Regions from separate parts of the Homo sapiens genome. Here region 1 is linked to region 2. Evidence: promoter capture Hi-C in human tissues and cell types (Jung and others, 2019). All regions are on one chromosome and are shown on one strand. The core of a region is centred on a gene start or on the middle of the fragment in contact, and the rest is flanking DNA. Distances in the headings are between cores, read along the strand shown. Region 1 overlaps ZFP2 (ZFP2 zinc finger protein). Region 2 holds the start of ZNF354C (zinc finger protein 354C).

The links. The method cuts DNA at HindIII sites, captures the fragments that hold promoters and counts their contacts. A contact is called where the count stands out against the background at its distance.
Region 1: a fragment that was not itself captured here is called in contact with the fragment with the promoter of ZNF354C in region 2 in 2 of the 25 tissues and cell types used here (H1 embryonic stem cells and dorsolateral prefrontal cortex).

What each region holds. Positions count from the first base shown.
Region 1 is chr5:178,917,036-178,923,791 of GRCh38, reverse strand. The region is part of intron 4 of ZFP2 (ZFP2 zinc finger protein); the gene reads right to left. It also overlaps the pseudogene PIGFP1. Among named protein-coding and RNA genes, the nearest start is that of ZNF454-DT, 21 kb to the left of the region's middle. The HindIII fragment of the contact is 5,302 bases long and covers 1-4,794 here.
Region 2 is chr5:179,058,155-179,064,770 of GRCh38, reverse strand. It overlaps ZNF354C (zinc finger protein 354C), which reads right to left and starts at 4,398. Exons shown (of 5, transcript NM_014594.3): 1 at 4,105-4,398; 2 at 2,676-2,756. The coding sequence starts at 2,702. RefSeq lists an enhancer at 3,544-4,079. The HindIII fragment of the contact is 19,620 bases long and covers 1-6,616 here.

The sequences.
Region 1 (6,756 bases), core at 894-3,393, 140 kb after region 2:
TTAGTTCTGAGGAGTTGATGCTTACGAAAGAAAAAAAAAAAAAGATTACCTACAAATTTTTAAAAAACTGGCAGAAGAGATTTTCTCAGGAACACAGGATGCCGAAAGACAATGGGGCCATGCCTGCAAGAACTGATGTGACTCAAGAACTCCACATGGTCAGCACTCCACACATGTGCAGAGAAAGGCAAAACACAGTCTTAAATATGAAGATTCAGTAATAACAGTACTCCTAAACCATTTCTGCTATTATTTAAATATTCAATTTGAATAAAAAATAAACATGAATGGGGAAGTTAGTTTGGGTATAAAAAGACTGGCAGTGACATGCTGAATCCACTTCAAGGATGAACCTCGAAGATATTATGCTAAGTGAAATAAGCCAGTCACGAAAAGACAAATATTGCATGATTCAACTCATATGAGGTATCTAGAGTAGTCAAATTCATAGAGGCAGAAAGCGGAGGTTACCAGGGGCTGGCGGAAGCGGGGAATGGGATGCTATTGCTTAAAGGATATAGAGTTTTCATTAGGAAAGATGAAAAAGTTCTGGAGACGGATGGCGGTGCTGGTTCCACAACAATGTGAATGTATTTAAATGCCTCCAAATGATACACTAAAAATGGCTAAAATGGCAAATTTTATGTTACGTATATTGTACACATATACACACAAACACAAAACATTACAATTAAAAAAAGACACCTAAAGAATTACATTTCAACTATCTGGGAAATCCTCATGTTTGAAAATTAAGCAGTGAATTTGTAAATTCTGAGAGGTCAAAGAGGAAATCACAATGGAATGAGATAATATTTTATGTGTTACAACCAAAGCAATGCTTAGAGGAAATTATATAGCTTTCAATATTTTTTTTTCTATTATAAATACTTTATTTCAACTAGAAGGTACAATCTCTCAGGGGTTTCATAGTTTAAAAAGCTACAATCACATCATGTTGTAACTACATAAAAAACAGTGCTGTAAATGGAACTGCTTGGCTTTGACCACACACATTTCTGCACAGCCCTTACAGAATCTGCACAAAGAAATATCTCCCTTTGCTCCAGTTAATTGTTCTTGTATGTAAGTTGCTTTCTATTCCAGTATATCCAGAGTGGTGAAATAACAAGGCCAGCCACGTGGACAAAGGTCGCTCCAAGCGTACAGGAGATGGGCCATACCTGCCATGCTCTTGCCCTGTCAAGGAATAGGACGTGCTCCAAGCCATGCTCCTACAAAACTAGACATTGCAGTGATCTGGAGACTATTCTCCCATATGGATGTAACTCCATTTCTACTGAAAACTCTTAGCCATGCTTTGAGGTTTGGTCCTAACAAACATAAGTAAGGCACAATAGTAAAAGTAGACAAAATAACTGCAAATAAAAATGTTTCCAATGCCAACTCTATTAGTGGTGCTCCATATAGAACAAAAATTACATGAAAGGAGAAACAAGACATAAGAAAGTAGATACAGCATTTCAAAAATCTGGTTACCTTGTATGATAATGAACTTATTTTAGAGGATGTATTTGGTTTCACTACTAAATATAGTACTAGACTGACAGCAGTTACAAAACCAGAACAGACGCACAACCATGTCAAGTGTGTTTCCAATATTGAGGAGTTCTCCAAGAAGAGTGATGGAATGAAGACACTTAGGATAATTGAAAATATGCATAAAAGATGGGTATACAGTAGTCTCTTGATATCGGTATCTTTCATGATGTTTTCTTGGGTGGCTAGCTGACTCTCCTGCCTGCGGAAGGAGCTTTAAATGTTTTTACAGTAAATAAGAATGGCCCATAATCTGTGACCTATGTTTCCACCTTAAGAAGTTAGACAAAGATCAAATTAAAACCAAAGTAGAGGATCCTCTTCCTGATAAGGTGGAGTAGGCCTATTCCACCATGTCTCTTCCACTGATAAACCCGAACAGAAAGCATGAAGCAATTATTTGAAGGCCCTGAGAAGTAAACAGTAGCAGGTGAATTGGGGAAGAGAACCAAAATCCAAAGTACCACTGAACCAGTGGTGAGCTTCCTTTTTTTCCTCAGCTGTCTTCTGTACTAAACTTATACAGCCATCTGAAAACAGGCACTGAGGCAGGAGAAGGCAGAGGAGGTTCTCCAGGAAAAGCTCTAGGGCCGGTTCATGGAGCAGGAAAAGGACTTCTAATGCTTAGAGAGAGCAGGGGGAATTGCCTATTTTTTCCCCTTTCTCTGTTCTATTGCACCCCAGCACTTAAGCAATCCTCTGGTGGCTGCTGCAACAGCAGTGCCACTGCAAGCTGACAGGAGCTCAAAAACATGAGGAGAGGGTCCTTCTTCCCCAAGCAAGGGATCTGTGGTCCCAAGAAGGGTAGCAAGAAGCCCCACTTCATCATCTTTTCTTTGTCCTCCTGCTGCTTGGCTCTACATAGGGATGGTCACTGGAAGTCACAGCAGAGCGGGGCAACTACAGGCCCCTGCCTTGTAGCCAGAAGAGTCAAAAGGACAGCCACAGGGAAGCTGAAACTACTGCGGACATAGACAGGGGAGAATTCGGGAACATGACCTTGGAAGTTATTTAAGAACTCCTGGGCTCACCTGCGAGATACATATGCATGAATCTGACCCCCTAAGCAGCACACGTGGACTTTGAGAATAAGAGGGACCGCTGCTTAAATTCCATACTGGCCACAGAGTGACACACATGTGAGCAAGATTCAAGCAACAATGTGAAGTCTCTGACAACCAAACTGACACAGAAACCACAACCCACAGAAAGCTGGTTGGACTTTGTAGTCTGAGCTCAACCAGGTTGACTGCCTGCTAACACAGAAATATCAACATTTTCTGTTGGATTTCAAGAAGACATAGAGTTTTATAACATAATATTCTAAATGCCCATGATACCTTTTGAAGTCACTGAGAATATAAAGACCCAGGAACATTTCAACTTACATGGGAAAAGATAACCAACAGACATCAAGTGAGATGATACAATTATCTTACAAGGACTTTAAAGCATCTGCCTTACTTGTTCCAACAAGTCAGAGTGAACACACTCTAAAGAAATGGAAATAAAATCTCAGCAAAGAAAATGAGCATATAAAAAGAACTAAGTGGAAATTCTGGAAGTGAAAAATATACAATTTTTTTTTTTTTTTTGAGACGAAGTCTCACTCTGTTGCCCAAGCTGGAGTGCAGTGGCGCGATCTCGACTCACTGCAACCTCTACCTCCCGGGTTCAAGCGATTCTCCTGCCTCAGCCTCCTGAGTAGCTGGGACTACAGGTACACGCCACCATGCCCGGCTAATTTTTGTATTTTTAGGAAAGACGGGGTTTCACTATGTTGGCCAGGCTGGTCTTGAAATCCTAACCTCGTGACCCACCAGCCTTGGCCTCTCAAAGTGCTGGGATTACAGGTGTGAGCCACCACACCTAGCCCTACAGTATTTTTAATATATAAACACTTATTTATTGATATAGAAAATAGAAATCTTGCTAAATAGGTCCAACAGCAGAAGGGTGAAAAAAGGAAAGAATTAACTTGAAGACAGATTAAAAGAAATTATTCAATCTGAACAACACAGAGAGAAAAGATTGAGAAAAAATAAAGATGAAGAGCACCTCAGGGATGTATGGGACAACAACAAAAGATCTCATATATGTCTCACTGGAGTCCCAGAGAAGGAGAAAATGTTTGGTGCTGAAAAAGTATTTGAAGAAATCATGGTTAAAAGCTTATATTTGACAGAAGATTTCAACCTATAGGAACAGGGTAAACCCAAAGAAATCCACGCCCAGATGCATCATAATCAAATTTTTTTTTTTTTCTTTTGAGACAGAGTCCACTCTGTCGCCCAGGCTGAAGTGCAGTGGTACAACCTTGGCTCACTGCAACCTTCACCTCCTGGGTTCAAGCGATTCCCGTGCCTCCTCAGCCTCCCAAGTAGCTGGGACTACAGGCATGCACTACCACACCCAGGTAGTTTTGTATTTTTTGCAGAGAAAGGGTTTCGCCATGTTTTGCCCAGGCCAGTCTCAAACTCCTGGCCTCAAGTGATCCACCTGCCTTCACCTCCCAAAGTGCTGAGATTACAGGTGTGAACCACTATGCCCAGCCATAATTAAATTCTAAAAATGGAAGTAAAAAACAATCTTGAAAGCAACCAGGGAAAATTGATACACTACTTGGTGGCAGGGCAAAAATGTGAATAACTGAATTTCTCATCAGAAACCATGGATGCCAGAAGGAAGTGGATTAATTATTTCAAAGTGCTGAAAGAAATAACCATAAACCTAGAGTTCTATATTAGCAAAAATCTTTCAGGAATGAAGGTGAAATAAAGACATTCTCATATGAAAGAAAACTAAGAGAATTTGTCACCAGCAGACCCACCCTGTTAAGTCATTGTAATATCAGAGCCAGAACTCTTAATGTTTTTAAACAATGCTGGTTACTTAGACATCAAGAGTATAACTAGCACGAAGAAGGATTTATCCAGGAAATAAAGAATGGTTCACTATTAAGAATCTATTACTATCATATTAATAGGTCATAGGTCATATGATCAACCTGATAGATGGTTCAGAAGTATTCAACTGGTATCCTTCATCCATTCGTGTTCAAAAACAAAAATATTAGCATTGCACCAAGAATACAAATAAAGCCCTAGAAGAATTCTCTCTAATAACAGAACCAAGGAAAAGGTGCTTACTATTACTACTACTATTTAATGTTATTCCAGAAGTGTGACCAATATGGCCACTGAGATGGGGGGAAATTTTTAATTTTTCCCAGATTATATAACTGTCTACCTACAAAATGAAAAACGGTTAGGGGGGCTTTACTCAGAATTGATGGAGTATTGTGGGCTTGGAGCCTGAGCAGTATAGGTCAGAAACTGTAGCTCTTCCAGGATTAAACAATGTTTCAGATCCTTGACATTTTACTATCTCATTAAATAAGGACTTTATAAAGCACAAAGCATTATGCTTGGATGTAATAAGGATCCAGTGATTATTAGCTGTTATCATTACCATCATTACTATTTTACATTAAGCAACATACAGTTCTCTCTGCCTTTCCTTTTTTCCTAAACAAGACTTTTGAGTAATAATACTGGAAATACTCAATACTCCCTTAACGGCTTGGAATGCTTTTTCTGCCTTCACTCGTTAACTTATAGGATTTATATAACTCTGATACTCACCAGGACATGAACTAGAGTCTCCAGACCAAGGTGTCTGGTCTGTCACAGACCCCTTAGTACACACGGCTGGCACAAGCCATAGCAGAGGCTGGGAGCTTGCACAGTATGGGTGTGTGGGATGGGACTGGGCAGCAAGCAGGTCCCATGCTTCTTGAAAAGGGCAAGTTGATTTATTTATTTTCTCCTTTTATATTTCTTCCATCCTCTGGGTAACAGTTAGCTACTCCTAACACCCAACTAGACTATTTCTATACCCACCTGTCTGGATTTTCTATTTAAACTCTTGCTACCCTACAATGCATTCTCTCCATATAGCAGTCAAACTGGTTTTATGAACACGATAAATCATTCATTCAATAAATACTTATCAAGCCAGGTACTGTTCTGGGTGCTCAGGATATAGCAATAAACAGAAAAAATGTCTGCCCTTATGAAACATATTTTAGCAAGAGAAAGGGAGACAATAAGTAAGTGGTATACCTTACAGAAAAACAATAAAAGCATTTAAATGGATATAGGGAACATGATGGGTGAGAGAAAACGTCTGCAATTTTAAAGTGGGTCATAAGAAAAGGCCTCACTGAAAAGGTGACATTTAAACCAAGACTTTAAGGGACTAAGAGAGGAAGTCATAGGACTATCTAAGGGAAAGCTTCCCAGACAGGGTAACAGCCAGTGCTAAGGCCCTGAGGCAGCAGTGGGCCTGTCTTATTTAAGGAAGAATGAACTTTTTGAATACTTCTACATTCATTATAGTATTTTAGATCAGTTTTCCTAGTAACGAAAGCAAAGATATGTGTACGTATTAAACATCAGTGAGGCTCATGTGAGCATGCAGGCAGATAGAGACTCTTAACTATATAAATTCTCTGTGTATGTTTCTCTATATATGTACACATATATTTACATGGACAGACATACATATATGCAGAAGTAGTTATCCAGTACATCTCTGAAAATTTTTTTTTTTTTTGAGATGGAGTCTTGCTCTGTTGCCCAGGCTGGAGTGCAGTGGCATGATCTCGGCTTACTGCAACTTCCACCTCCCGGGTTCAAGTGATTCTCACGCTTCAGCCTCCTGAGTAGCTGGAATTATAGGTACGTGCCACCATACCTGGCTAATTTTTGTATTTTTAGTAGAGACGGGGTTTCACCATGTTGGCCAGACTGGTCTCGAACTCTTGACCTCAAGAGATCTGCCCGCCTCAGCCTCCCAAAATGCTGGGATTACAGGTGTGAGCCACGACGCCCGGCCACATTTTTAAAAATCATGTGTGAAACACAGACAGCAGGCTCCTATGTTTAGGGATGGTTAGGGTGGCTTCCTGGAGAGCTAAAAAGATTATAGAATCCCCAACTGTATTTTTACACATAATCTTTGATAGTACTTTATTCATGTTCTTAATTTTTATCTCCTTCATAACTGAATATGATTAAATGATTTAAATCTAATTGCTATTGATGAGAGGCTAAAAGACACTGCTTTCCACATTACTAAAAATTTCTATCTTTTCTCAAAATTAGTCAGTTTACAATGAAAATACTGGCACCA
Region 2 (6,616 bases), core at 3,149-5,648:
AGACCTGTGATTGGGACACTCTGGGTCCCCAGGAGACTTAATCAAAAGGGTTACATAGGCCGGGCGCGGTGGCTCACACCTGTAATCCCAGCACTTTGGGAGGCCAAGGCAGGTGGATCACGAGGTCAGGAGATGGAGACCATCCTGGCTAACATGGTGAAACCCCGTCTCTACAAAAAAAAAAAAAATTAGCCAGTGTGGTGGTGGGCGCCTGTAGTCCCAGCTACTCGGGAGGCTGAGGCAGGAGAATGGCGTGAACCCGGGAGGCGGAGCTTGCAGTGAACCGAGATGGCGCCACTGCACTCCAGCCTGGGCGACTGAGCAAGACTCTGTCTCCAAAAAAAAAGGGGGGTTACATATTGGCCGGGCACAGTTGCTCACACCTATAATCCAGCACTTTGGGAAGCCAAGGCAGGAGGATCGCAGGAGCCCAAGAGTTCCTTCCAGCCTGCAGTGAGCCGAGATCGCACCACTGTACTCCAGCCTGGGCGACAGAGCAAAACTCTGTCTCTAAAAAAAAGCAACAACAACAACAACAAAAACCCACAAAAGGATTAGATATTGAATCAGCTGTCACCCCTTCCAAAAACAACAACAACAAAAACTGGCTCTGAGTTGCAAACAAACCTACCTCTGCCCTTGGCTAAAATGAAGTAAGTCTCTCCTGCTGTGGATGTAGGCGAGCTCAGATAGCGAACAACCCTACCTTTGGGCAGCAGATAGCCCAGGTAATAGCTGGATATTCCTGTGCACTGCATTTTGCTGGTCTTTACGTCTTGGTTTCCTGAAATATCCATCTGCTTCTAATTAAGGAATCAGGCCTAGTGAGGCGAAGCACACCAAATCTGGCAGGTCCTAAAATAGTGCTGCTGCTGCTGTTACTGATACTGATCATAGTAACAGCTGGAATTTATGGAGGTCTTAATACGTGCCATGCACTTCTCTCAGCATTTTAAATGTACTTTTTCAGAGCATGATGCTAACAGTATAGACTGTCTTGTTGGGATCAAAAGCCAGCTGTGTGACCTTGATCAAGTTACTTGCTTCTCTGTGCCTGTCTCCTCATCTGTACAATCCAGATATTAACAGTCCTCTTGTAAGGATTAAATGACTTACTATATGAAAGGAATAGATATTTTTATACATAGTAATACATAGAACCTGGCTCACAGCAAATATGCTTGTAATTACTACTTTTTGGGGTTCTTTTTGAGACAAGGTCTCACTCTCGTGCCCAGGCTGGAGTGCAGTGGCACAATCATAGCTCACTTGCAGCCTCGAATTCCTGGGCTCAAGTGATCCTCCTACCTCAGCCTTCTTAGTATCTGGGACTATAGGTGCTGCTGCACCCAGCTACTTTATTTTTAATTTTGTATAGTGACAAGGCCTCACTATGTTGCTCAGGTTGGTCTCAAACTTCTGGGCTCAAGCAATCCTTCTGTCTTGGCCTCCCAAAAGTGCTGGGATTATAGGCGTGAGCTACTGTGCCCAGCTACTACTGTTACTAATGCTCATAGCAACTCAGTCATGTATGTATATTATTAACCCCACCAAAATTGAGGAAATGGGGTACAGAGAGATAAAATAACTTGCTCAGGGCTACATCCCTAGCTTGGATTTGAAGCCATGAAGTCAAGCTCCTGAGTCCACATTTCCAGCCTATGGGCTATTGGAAAAGGAGTCAATGAAGAATAGGCTTTGGAGTATGGCAGAAAAAATGCACAGAAGGGAGGGGACTAGAGGAAAGGGAGCTGGTGTTGAAGGAAAGATGGGACTTCCACGTCGGAATGACAGACAGGAATGCTAGGAAAAAGGTCAGGCCTGAGGACAGATTTGGGGAAGATACTCAGAACGCTGAGGGTTAAAGTAATGAAAATGGATCTTAAATGGGGAAAGAACAAGAAAAAAGAGCCCAGGTAGAGAGGCTAAACTAGCAGAGAAAAAAGAAAAGAATCAGAGAAGGAAATAGAGGAATCAATCAGACAGGTGAGATGGACATTTGGACAGCTTAACATCCCCGCTGCACTGGGAGGGGAAGGCCCCAGGCCTGCCTCCTTCTGGGCTTCAAAGCCCAAACCACGCTGAACTCCTTCTGGGATGCCCTTAGTCTTCTCTAAGCACCAATATCAGTCCTGGCCTCCAGTATAAACTCAGAATGCCCCCACTTCTGGGATATTTCCCCTGAACATTTAATCATGTTTCCTAAGATCGATACCACGAACTCCCAGAAGATGGAAATGACAGCTTTCCTCTTTCCATCCCGTGTGCTGCACAGGATCCTGTACATAGGGCTCAATAAATGCTTGTGGAGGCTGTCTTCCGGCCCTTCCACATCTTAGCCCCAAGTGTGACTATATCCTCTATGAAGACAGAGACTGCTTCATGCCCCATTCTCCCCACCCAGCACCAGTGTAGTGGGAAGCATATGCTCAGAACTGCCTCAAATGTGGATCACAGAGTGAGCGGGGTGAATTAAGAGTAGTCTCGGGACAAAAGAGGCACATTCCTCAGCAGCCCCTTGCTAAGCCCAAGACACTGGGAAAAACTTTTGAGGTTCCGGATTCTTCATCGTTTTGGTTGGACCAAAAAGTACCTGGACAAAGTCTGGAAACATGTCTACCATCTCTGAATCCAGAAGCCAACTGATGAAAAAGACAACCTTCACTCACTCTCACCTGAGCAGACAGCAGATCCACAGCCATCCCTTCCTCCTCAGTCTTCCTGCCCAGGGAGAGCAGAGTGTGGACACGGTGGGTCTGCAGAGGAAAAAGGTGTCAAGAGGAACCCTGGCGTCAGGAGATGGCTTGGAGAGAGGAAGTTACAACCGCCCATAATGTCCATCAGGTCTCAAAAAAGCCACCCCCCGTAATGATGTAAAGCAAGAAGAGTGTTTACTAGTTTACTAGGGCAATGTGCCAACCCTACTTCTATTTCTGCACTTGGACTCTTTAACTTCCACCTTCGGGCCTCTCAGCTACCTCTAGGCAAACCGTGACTCCCCCATGGATGTCTGGAGTCCTTCGCTAGCTTTGAACTGCACACCTAAAAGTCGCAATGAATATCCAGTCTCCTGGGGCGCCACTTCCCAGCCTAGCTAGCTGATCCTCATCCTGCCTGCCCTGCCTCACCCTTTCCTCCCTATGGTAGCCACGATAAAGAGGCTTCCCCGCATCCCTACCCTGGTGACAGACCCCACTGCTCGCCCTGAGTGGTCCTTCCGTGGAGTGCTGTGTTCTCCCCAAGAAACTGTGAGCATAATCCAACCACTCAGCTTTCCCAGCCTCTTTACTAGATCTTCGTCGGGCCTTACCACACTTTACCCAAGGTAACAGGATTAAGGCACTGTCCCCACCCAAAGCCAGAGCTTTGCTGTCCCTCCTAATACTCCACAGGTGCCGCCTCTAATGGCACCCACAACCAGAAACAGCCGTCGCTGCCCAAACACCAACCCCAGGTGGGAGAGGTGGAAACCGTGCCCGCCCCACAGAAAGCAAGGGAAGAGGCTGCCTGGGGCAGCCGGGCAAGTGTGAGGGCCTCCAGGCCCGCGATCTGCAGCGGCGACTCAGGGTGCCCCCTAGCATGGAGCCAACCTGGGGCTCTGCCAGGCCAGTTCCAGCGGGTGCCTCGACCAGCCCAGGGGAAGCTGCCACACAAGGCCTCGGTTACGCGACGAAGCGCACCTCCTCCCAGGAAGCGGTGAGTGTTTTCCACGCAGTATTTTCAATCTTCACATTTACAGATGTTACGGAGACTGAAAACCAGGAGGTCGTGACCTGCCCAAAGTCATAAGGGCCGGGAAGGCAATCCTGATCCTAGCCCCAGGCCCCAGTTACATCTGGGGCAATGACCTCGCCACTCTGCCTCGGTCTCCTCCTGACAGAGCGGGAACAGCGTACCGCCACCCTATCTGTTAGCAGGGATGCGCGGAGTTCGTTCGGGCGATGCGCTAGTCTGGTGCCTGGCACCCGAGCGCTCTCGGCGGGCATCAGCTATTGCTTTTATTATTTCCGTTACTCAGAAGAAAATGCACAGAAGAAAATCGCAGAATGAACAACGACAAAAGGCTGGCATCCCCACCCCAGCGGCCCGGCGCACCCAGCTCACCTGGCGAGGCGCTCCCTCCCGCGGGTCTCCGGCAGTCCAGGCCGCTCGCGGACGGCGCCCCGGGACCCAGTGGCCAAGGGGCCCGAGCCGCGTAGGGCTGGTCCCAGAAGCCCAGACGAGGCTGCACGCCGCCCACTCGCTGGAGAGGCCCGGATCCACCCCGGCCCGGAAGAGACCACTGCGAGCGCCTCAACCCCAGGCCGGCAATCCTAGCCAAGCCTGGATGGCCCAAGCCAGGAGAACCCCCGAAAGGCCGCGAGCTGTCCCCGAAACCCCGCCAACCGCGGGAGAACTACCACTCCCGGCATGCCTCCGGCCCCACGCCGACTACACTTCCCAGGGGACGCCGCGGTGCGCGCTGCGAACTCCGGGAGAGGAACCGCCTCCGCCAACGAGAGCTCTCAAAGGCGACAGTGCGCGGAGGGGCTGCAGTGCGAGGGAGTACGCACGCCGCACACGAGGCAGGAGGTCTCCAGCTGCTGGCCGTGCTGCCTACAGCCCGCGCACTTGTTAAGCAAGCGGAGTAGTTTGAAAAAACAAAACCGGAAATTAGATTCATTTAGGAGGATCAGTGTGCTGTAGCTCCCACCGCTGGTTGTGATTACTTTTCTGTTGATACAAAATAATTTACATAATGTATAGGGTCCATGTGAGTGCTTGTTACGTGCATAGACTGTAATGATCATCAAGTCACAGTATTTGGGGTATCCATCACCTTAAGCATTTATCATTTTTATGCGTTGGTATCATTTCAAGCCCTCTCTTCGATTTACTTTGAAATATACACAATATTATTGCCAAGTATAGTCACCCTAGTCTGCTATTAAATATTAGAAATTATTTCTTCCATCTAACTGTATGTTTGTACCCATAACCAACCTCTCTTCATTCCCCTTCCTTTCTGGCCTTCCTGGCCTTTGGTATCTATCCTCCTGTTGTCTATGTCCATGAGATCAAGTGTTTTAACTCCCGAATATAAGTGAGAACATGCAGTACTTGTCTTTCTGTGCCTGGCTTATTTCACTTAACATAATGACCTTCGGCTCCATCCATGTTGCTGTGAATACATTATTTCATTCATTTTTATGGCAGAATAGTATTCCATTGTGTCTATGTATGACATTTTCTTTACCCATTCATCTATTGCTGGTAGGTTGAGTCTATATCTTGGCTACTGCAAATAGTGCAGTGACAAACGTGAGTGCAGGTATCCTTTTCATATACTGATTTCTCTCCCTTTACCAGTAGTAGGGTTGCTGGATTGTATGGTAGTTCCATTTTTAGTTTTTTGAGAAACCTCCACACTGTTTTCCATAGTGGCTGTACTAATTTACATTCCCACCAATAGTGTATAAGAGTTCCCTTTTCCCCAAATCCTCACTGGCATCTGTCATTTTTTTGTCTTTATAATAATAATCATTCTAACTGGAGTGAGCTTATATCTAATTAGAAAGTGTTAGTAACCAAAAGAGCATGATATTTGTATAAAAATAGACACACACACCCCCCCATGGAACAGAATAAGAGAACCCAGAAATCAGTGCACCCATTTACAGCCAACTGATTTTCAACAAAGGTGCCAAGAACACACAATGAGGAAAGGACTACGTCTTTAATAAATGGTTCTGGGGAAAACTGGATAATAATATGCAGAAGAATGAACTTGGACCCCTTCTCTCTCAACATATATAAAAGTCAACTCCAGATAGATTAAAGATTTAAAGACTCCAAACTATAAAACTGATAGAAGGAAACATCGGGACAACTCTTCAGGACATTGATCTAGGCAAAGATTTTTCTTTTTCTTGCCTGTGCTTTTGAGGTCTGTGGCTAAGACCTCAAAAGCACAGGCAACAAAAAGAAAAATAAACAACTATATTAATCTAAAAAGTGTCTGCACAGCAAAAGAAACAACAGAGTGAAGCAACAACTTGAGAGAAAATATTTATAAATTACTCATCCAACAAAGGACTAATACCCAGTATATACAAAGAATTCAAATAACAGGTTTGTGACCAGCCAGGCCAATGTGGCGAAACCCCGTCTCTACTAAAAATGCAAAAATAGCCAGGCGTGGTGGTGCATGCCTGAAACCCCAGCTACTTGGGAGGCTGAAGCAGGAGAATTCCTTGAACCTGGGAGGTGGAGGTTGCAGTGAGCTCAGATCATGCCACTGCACTCCAGCCTGGGTGACAGAGCGAGATGCCATCTCAAAGAAAAAACAAAACAAAAAAAACCACAACAGTATACAAAGAGTCCCATTAAAAATGGGCAAAGGGCTGGGCACAATGACTCATGCCTGTAATCCCGGCACTTTGGGAGGCGGAAGTGGATGGATCACTCGTGCCCAGGGGTTCCAGAGCAGCCTCAGCAACATAGTGAGACCTTGTCTTTACAAAAAATAAACGAAATTAGCCAGGCATGCCAGTGCAGGCCTGTAGTCCCAGCTACTCAGGAGGCTGAGCGCAGAGGATTGCTTGAACCCAGAGGTTGAGGCTGCAGTGAGCAAAAA